2 separate regions of the Homo sapiens genome follow, and region 1 is linked to region 2. Evidence: promoter capture Hi-C in 16 types of primary human blood cells and fetal thymus (Javierre and others, 2016). All regions are on one chromosome and are shown on one strand. Each heading gives the region's core, a stretch centred on a gene start or on the middle of the fragment in contact. The rest is flanking DNA. Distances are from core to core; before and after follow the strand shown.

Region 1 (4,134 bases), core at 496-2,995, 210 kb after region 2:
GTTTTTGTACAGTAATGATACTGACTTTGTGGACACCCAGAACCATTACTGGAGTGGCCTTGTGCCAGAGTTCTTTAAGCTCTACTTTGTACTGAATATCTGGCTACACTTTAACGTTTTTTCCATTCTAATATGTGTAGATGGTATTTCACTAATTTTAACTTTCATTTTCCTGGTTACCAGTGAAGATGAAAATACCTGTTTAGGAATGGATGAAAATGACCTGTTTAGGAATACACACAAACACAATTTAAAAATCCACAGTGATGATAGATGGTAGTTTGATATAGTGGTTACCTCTGGCAAGGAGTTAATAATAGAGGTTAGAGATGTGTTCTGGGAGAAATACACAGTGGGGCTTAATCTGGGTGGTGGGGCTGAGAAATGATGGTTATTCTTTATAACTTTTTTAACACCTTAAATACTGTGTTGAGAAAATGTAACAATTACTTTGAAGCTGCAGTCAATTTGAAAACGGCAGTGTCACATCTGGAAGTTTTATAGAATAATCTAACTTGAGAACTATGAGGCCCTTACAGTTCACATAAAGCTGATTGCTCTTTAGTGACTCATGCAGTGTATTAGTCAGGATTCTCCAGAGGAGCAGAACCAAAAGAATATATGTAGAAAGATTCATTATGAAGGACTGGCTCACGTGATTATGGAGACTGAGAAGTTACACGGTCTGTAGAATGGTGTAGTTCCAGTCTGAGCCCAGTGTTCTGTGAACCAGGGGAGCCAGTCATGGAAGTCCCTATCTGAGCCTGGAGGCCTGAGAACCAGGAGCACCCATGTCTGAGGGCAGAAGATAGCTCAGCTCAAGAAGAGGGTGAATTTGCCCAACTCCAACTTTTTGGGTAATGTCTGCCCACATTGGTGAGGATGGATTTCTTTACTCAGTCTGTGGACTCATTGCTAATCAGCTCTGGAAGCACCCTCATGGACTTTCACAGAAATAATATTTTGTTAGGTAGCTGGGCATCTCTTATCCCAGTCAAGCTGTCGCACAAAATCAGCCAGTATGCATTCTAAAAGTTAGATAGTGCTTAAAAACGATGTCTTTCCTAGAAAAGAAATGGTCTTACTAGTAAGTACTAAAGCTAGTTTTGATTAAAAGACTGTGATGGTGAGCTGAATAAAATATTAAGTGGGTCTTTCAATAGCTTACTCATTATTTGGAGTTCCTCTTTGAATGGTCTGTTCATATCTGTTTTTTCTTTTGGGTTGTTTGTCTTTTGTTTATTGATTTTAGGGACTGTTTATATTATACTTACTGGAAATTTATTTTTATTGTTTATAAGTATCTCCTCCCAGTCTGTGGCATGTGTTTCCTTAAAAAATAGTCTTTGACTAGATTTTTGAGAAGAATACAGTCAGATGTATAATCTTTTTTCTGTGTAGTTTTTATTCTTTTTTTATTAAAACATGAACAAAAATGTATTTGGAAACCCTTTCAGACTTCCAAGAAAGTTGCAAGAATAATACAGAAACTCCCACTTGACCTTCTCTTACACTCATGAACTGCTTTTTGTCAACTTATGTTGTCATTCTAATTGTTTACGTACATGGATATACTGTATATGTAAAATTTTCTTTCCTGTACCATTTGACAGTAGGTTGCAGGTGTCATGCCACTTCCGAATGCTTCAGTATTGTTTAGCATGTATTTCCCGCAAAACAGGAACTTTCACTTATATAAATATTGTATAATTTTTAAAGTCAGGAAGTTTATCAGACATCCAGTTCTATATATGTGAGGTTTATTGTTGTTGTTTTGGAGACAGGGTGTTTCTCTGTCACGCAGGTGGAGTGTAGTGGCGTGATCATAGCAAGCAGGAACTCCTGGGCTCAAGTGATGCTCCTGCCTTGGCCTCCCAGAGTGCTGGGATTGGCGTGAGCTAGTGTGCCGTGCCCAGTTGTATTTTTATTCTACAGTGGTTATTCAGATTGTTTTCAGTTGTCTCAATAATTTCCTTTATACCCCCAAAAGAATTTTTTGTTCTGATTCAAGATTCAATTCAGGATCATACATTGCATTTTTCTTTCATCATTTCTTAATGTGGAAGAATTCTGTAGCCTGTCTTTTATGACGTTGACAGGCCATTTATCTTGGGTTTGCTGGTGGTCCATTGTGACTAAATGCGGGCTGTGCATTGTGGTCAGAGTAGATGATGTGTGGCCTCCTGAGTGCCCACTTCAGGAGGCACAGGAAATTGGTTTGTGCTTTTTGTCCTTAAGAAATTCTTCCCTTCCTTGTATTCTAGATATCTCCTGCATGTGTCTATGAAAGTTGTAATTTTTTTAAATAGCTATACAGTCTGCCTGAAATTGATTGAATTGATTGATTTTTAGTTACTAACAAGTTCAAGCATATGTGAAAATAGACTAGTACAGTGAACCCAATGTACCATCTTCCAGTTTCACCAGTTATCAGCATATAGCCAATCTCTTATCCATACTCTCTGCAGCCCCCTCAAATCACAAAATTTTTGAAAAAATTTCAGAATATATTTTTCTAAAAAATAAACGGTTTAAAATATAGCCACAATAGTTACTATATCTAAAAAAATTCCTTATTACGTAAATATCTTAGTGTTTACATTTCCGATTGTCTCTTATATTTGTGTGTGTGTCTATGTATACGTATGTAGACGCATATATATCTACATACATATGTATACACACATATTTTAAATATATGTATTAGTATACTGTCACTTACACAGTGTGGATATGTGTCTGTGTGCTTTTTGATGGTTTGAATTGGGCGCACATGGTCATTGATGGGTATGTCTTTCAAGTGTTGTTTCATGTACAGGTTCTCCCCCATCTTATTTTAGTTCCATGCAATTTTTGTTGAAGAAGCAAGGTAGCGTGTCTTCTAGAATTTTTCCTTTTGCTGATTGCACTCCCTGAGGTGTTTTTAGTGTGCCCCTTAGCTGCTGATATTTTATGTGAGTTAATAGAAGTGGATGGGATTCAGGTTTGAACTTGGGGGAGGGGCCGGGGTGTGGCAGTGTAGTAAGTATTGCTGTGTTCCTCATCGGAAGCTCCTTGGGGGCTGGTGAACTTTGCGTGGTGATACCTCTGCTTTTCCTGTTACCTGTAGTACTAGTACACTAATATACTACCTAATAGTACTGTAAACTAGTTCGTTCTTGAGGTAGAGATTACATAGAAAAGACAGGGTAAGTGATTGAGTCTTTCCTGTTGTTTACCAAGTTTCAAACTAAGAAGTCAGCCCTAGCACTTGCAGGGATGAGTTTTGTTTTTGAATCATTTTGAAATCATAGATTTAAATGTTGGTTGTGTTGAATCCATTGTCGTTTCGTATCTTTATTGGTGGTTACATTGCCTGATATTTGTTCAACTGGAATTTCTTCAGGTTGGCTCCTGTGTCCATTTGACATGACTTTAGATGTCTTTGGCAGCTGTCTTGCTTTCTGCTATGATGGAACTTGTTTTGGTCATGGTGTGAGACGGTTCTAGGTTTTATTGTTTACCGTATTATGAATTGCAGTTGTTTCATATTGTTTGTGAACGAGCTCTTTTTTTTACTGTCTTCAGTGACGTGTTTGCATCTATGAAGCTTTTGCCACATGTATTTCTTTTTTGATGTTTTAAGCATAAGACAGCCTCTCTGTGTGCTGCATGACACAGAGAGAGACACTTGGAAGGTGAGAAGAGTGGGTCAGGAATTACTATGGTAAGTTCTTCTGCCATGCTGTACTGGTAGTGGTGTTTGGAAGAATATGATGTCATTGCTGAACCAACACCTGAAATTGTGTTTTATTTATTTTTTTTAAAGATATGAATGTCTCATGTGTCCAGGCAAGAAAGAGATACCCACTCAAAAAGTTTTTGTTTGTTTTTGTTTTTGTTTTTTTGAGACAGAGTCTGCTCTGGAGTGCAGTGGTGCGATATCAGCTCACTGCAACCTCTACCTCCCAGGTTCAAGCGATTCTCATGCCTCAGTCTCCCGAGTAGCCGGGATTACAGGCATGTGCCACCGTGCCTGGCTAATATTTATATTTTTAGTAGAGAAGGGGTTTCGCCGTGTTGGCCAGGCTGGTCTTGAACTCCTGGTCTCAGGTGATCCAACCACCTCAGCTTCCCAAAGTGTTGAGATTACGG
Region 2 (4,224 bases), core at 341-2,840:
GGACATTCTGACAACAGCTGGAAGGAAAGTCTAGAAAAGATGAAGAGAGAGGAGGGGAGAAACCAACTGGGGCTCCCACCCTTGCCGTTGGATTCCTAATTCTCGTTTCAAATGGGCCCTGCTCTCCGGCAAAATTAGTTTAAAGGATTTTAAAACAAAGAAAACGAGATGACCGGTCTGGGAGCTCCTCAATCAGAGTAGAGAAGTTAGAGGGGGGCGGGCGACTTGGTTTTGAAGTCTTAGCTGAACAGTCACCCCTCCTCTCCTTGGCAAAAAGGATTCCTTTAGAACCTCCGAGGCTCCTGGATTTCTCCCTTCGCAAATGGAGCCGCATACTGCATTCCCCCGCTCTTTCGGATCGCTAAGCATGTTTCATGAGGGTCGCTGTCCCCGGGTGGAATGCGGCCGTATGCACGCGCCTCCCTGCACACGCACACACACGCACACTTACAATAAGTGTCTGCAGGAGGAGTGTCCTGCGCGCCAGCTCTGCGTTTAAGACAGGAAGCTGCCGGGTTACCGAGTCAAATGGGAGTGACACTATTCCTCTCCATCAGCAAGGAAAGCGGACCACAAAAGTCCCTTTGTATCTCGGCAGCTCATTTAATATTATTTATGCATTTTGTGCAAGGAATTGTGGGATTTCGCCCCACGGTAAACAATATGGAAATCTTAAAAATAGCGATCTTCCTGTGCGTGTCCACCTACGCGCCCCGGGGTGACCTGGCGGGGCTGTCGCCGGGTGACTCACACCCCTGAACCGCGAAGCGACAGGGAAAGCGCGGGCGAGCGCAGGAGACGCGGTCGGGGGTCTCTCCGGGTTCCTGGGCTCCCGCACCCGGAGCGGGGGACGCGGCCGCTTTAAGGGGAGGAGGGGCGGCGGGCTGCTCCTGTCACCCAGCGGCGGCCGGAGCGTCACGTGGGCGCGCGGCGCCGCGGCCATTGGCCCGAGGCACGTGTCCAGGAGACCGGCCTGCGACGTCACTCGAGGGGGCTCTGTTAAAAATAAGAACAAAAATCCAGAGTGAAAGTGTCTCAGGTTGCGCCGAGTGGCCTGGAAATTTCCGAGCCCGCGCGGAGGCCGAGGCGGCGAGGGCGGCGGACGGCCGGGGAGCGCGGGCGGCCCAGCCCGGCCCGGCCGGGCCCTGGCCTCGCGTCTCTCACCCATGCGACTCGGGCCGCGGAGCTCTGCGGGGCTCGGCGGGGGCGCGGCCGCACGCCGGTGGGGCGCCCCGGCCCGCAGCGGGGCGGCGGCCGCGAGGAGGGGGCCTCCATGTGCGTGCGGGCGGTGGCGGGCGCGCTGACCGCGGGCGCCCGGCACCCTCGAGGGCCGGCTAGGGCGTGCGGGCGGGGACGGCCGGGCGGCGGCGGCGGCCGGAGCCGGCCCGGGCGGGCGTGAGCGCCGGGGAACGCGCTGCCTGCATGCGCGCAGCTCTCGCCCCGGGCGGCCCAGGCGGCGGCGCCGGAGCCCGAGGCGGCCGGACGCGGAGAGGAGCGGGGAGCCCGGGAGGCGGCCCGCGTCCCCGCCGGACCACTGCGACTGTCTAGACCCCGGCTGCGCGGCGAAGTCGAGGACTTGGCTCTGTTGAATCTCTCATCGTCTGGGCGAGCGGGGCGGCTCGTGGTGTTTCTAACCCAGTTCGTGGATTCAAAGGTGGCTCCGCGCCGAGCGCGGCCGGCGACTTGTAGGACCTCAGCCCTGGCCGCGGCCGCCGCGCACGCCCTCGGAAGACTCGGCGGGGTGGGGGCGCGGGGGTCTCCGTGTGCGCCGCGGGAGGGCCGAAGGCTGATTTGGAAGGGCGTCCCCGGAGAACCAGTGTGGGATTTACTGTGAACAGCATGGAGGAGAATGACCCCAAGCCTGGCGAAGCAGCGGCGGCGGTGGAGGGACAGCGGCAGCCGGAATCCAGCCCCGGCGGCGGCTCGGGCGGCGGCGGCGGTAGCAGCCCGGGCGAAGCGGACACCGGGCGCCGGCGGGCTCTGATGCTGCCCGCGGTCCTGCAGGCGCCCGGCAACCACCAGCACCCGCACCGCATCACCAACTTCTTCATCGACAACATCCTGCGGCCCGAGTTCGGCCGGCGAAAGGACGCGGGGACCTGCTGTGCGGGCGCGGGAGGAGGAAGGGGCGGCGGAGCCGGCGGCGAAGGCGGCGCGAGCGGTGCGGAGGGAGGCGGCGGCGCGGGCGGCTCGGAGCAGCTCTTGGGCTCGGGCTCCCGAGAGCCCCGGCAGAACCCGCCATGTGCGCCCGGCGCGGGCGGGCCGCTCCCAGCCGCCGGCAGCGACTCTCCGGGTGACGGGGAAGGCGGCTCCAAGACGCTCTCGCTGCACGGTGGCGCCAAGAAAGGCGGCGACCCCGGCGGCCCCCTGGACGGGTCGCTCAAGGCCCGCGGCTTGGGCGGCGGCGACCTGTCGGTGAGCTCGGACTCGGACAGCTCGCAAGCCGGCGCCAACCTGGGCGCGCAGCCCATGCTCTGGCCGGCGTGGGTCTACTGTACGCGCTACTCGGACCGGCCTTCTTCAGGTGAGCCCGCGGGGACCACGCGTCCCGGCTCGCCGCGGGGAGGCCCGCGGAGCTGGGGGGCGGTGCTGGCGCGGGAACTTACCGGGAGGAAAACATCTCGAACCTCCCCCGCGCACACGCACAAAGACTCACGCGACATTGTGTGAAGCTGACGCCGGCCCGGGCAGCGGCCAGGAGTCCAGCGGCAGGACTGATTCGCTAGGGGGTACAGACTTCTTAGGACCGCAGAAGGGACCTTCTTTCTTTCTCTGTCTCTCTCTCTCCTTCCTCTCTCCCTGTCTCCCCTCTCTGTCTTCCACCCCGCCTTGGCGCATCTCTTCCCAGCCCCTAGCCCATGTCTCCCCCACTGTAGTTTTTTTTGGTGGGAACGTGGTGGCTGGAAGATGGGCCCGGAAGTGCACACTCTCATCCCCTTCCCTACGATCTTCCAACTCAGGCCAGGCCGGGGACGCATGCCCCAGCCCACCCCAGACTTGTCCTACCATCCGGTTATCCCGGCTGTGCTCGGGGAAGAAAAGGCGAGGCCCTTTGCCGCTCTGCCTTCTGCCCCTCGGGCCTGCGCTGACCGGTGGGACTCAGGAGGATGCACACAGGGAAGGAGGAAAATAAAGGCGCCCTTTCCCCTTGGCTCCACTTTGTTTGCCAGCGCCAGCCCGCAGTGGTGGGGCTCAGCCCCCTTCCTGCACACAGCGAGGACAAGGGAGGCAGCCGTCCCTCCCGGCACCTGCCATCCCCAAATAGAAAGGACCTTCTCTCAGGGTTTCCTGGGGGCTGCTGATGGGAAAGAGGCAGCATTCGCAGGGGCCCTGCAGAGATGCTGGATATATTTTTTCATAGATCTGCGATTTTAAAAAACTAAGTCCATGTCCTTGTAGAAATCATCAACTGCATTCCATGCGGGTCTGCGGCTGGGAACCGCCATTAGAAGTGGACTGTTTGACCCCGAGCTGGCAGCGGATCCCCGCTGCCCCCAAACCCTCAACTATTTTGCGGGGGTCATTTGCCCAGATCACAGCAGGAGTGAGCCAACCCTTGGGCCGCCATCCCGCAGAACTATGCGTGCATATTTCTGATGAAATTCAGATTTCTCAGCTAGATCTGAAATTTGCTCCATTGTTCTCGTCTTCCTCCTTTGTTAATATTTAATTAACATACAGGCTCACAATGCCGGGCGAGGAGACTCGGCCGGGCTTTGTGCGGCGCGGGAGTTCGCTGAGCCAGCCCCCAACGGCCCGGGAGCTGGGCAGCACCGCCCGGCCCGGCCTGGCCCGGCCCAGCTCAGCCCAGCCCAAGTCGCCTATCTTCATGGGCTTTAAAATATCCCTGCAAGATAATGTTTCTGTTCTTTGGTTTCTCCGAAAGAAAGGGGAGAGAGAGTTTTCTTGGGGAGGTTTGATTCTGTTTCTGAGACTCCTAAGTATTTGTCTTTTGAAAGAAAATCAAGAAAAAAACCTAAAAATTATTATTTTAGGGAAATTTATTGCCATAAAATGGTGTCCTTTTGCGGGCTGCTTCATGAGTGCATTAACAAGAGCCCCAGGACCAGAAGAGTTTGGGGGTAGAGTTCTGGGGAAGGGAGTGGTTGGAAACCCAGACAGAGATGGGCTCTGGGAGCAGGAGGCTGGGGCCTCTCCTGGAGCCTTGTGCCCCATCCCCCACCACCGTTCCGGAGGGCCAACCCCATCTCCAAATCTGCACCT

Evidence for each region. Contacts are between HindIII fragments. The CHiCAGO score rates a contact against its expected background, and 5 or more counts as called.
Region 1: a fragment that was not itself captured here is called in contact with the fragment with the promoter of EN2 in region 2 in 1 of 17 cell types (neutrophils); the score reaches 5.1 in neutrophils.

What each region holds. Positions count from the first base shown.
Region 1 is chr7:155,665,497-155,669,630 of GRCh38, forward strand. All of the region lies in intron 2 of RBM33 (RNA binding motif protein 33), which reads left to right. Among named protein-coding and RNA genes, the nearest start is that of RBM33, 23 kb to the left of the region's middle. The HindIII fragment of the contact is 3,684 bases long and covers 1-3,587 here.
Region 2 is chr7:155,456,539-155,460,762 of GRCh38, forward strand. EN2 (engrailed homeobox 2) reads left to right here and starts at 1,591. Exons shown (of 2, transcript NM_001427.4): 1 at 1,591-2,524. The coding sequence starts at 1,840. It overlaps EN2-DT (EN2 divergent transcript), which reads right to left and starts at 580. Exons shown (of 3, transcript NR_186580.1): 1 at 452-580. RefSeq lists an enhancer at 253-1,244. The HindIII fragment of the contact is 14,368 bases long and covers 1-4,224 here.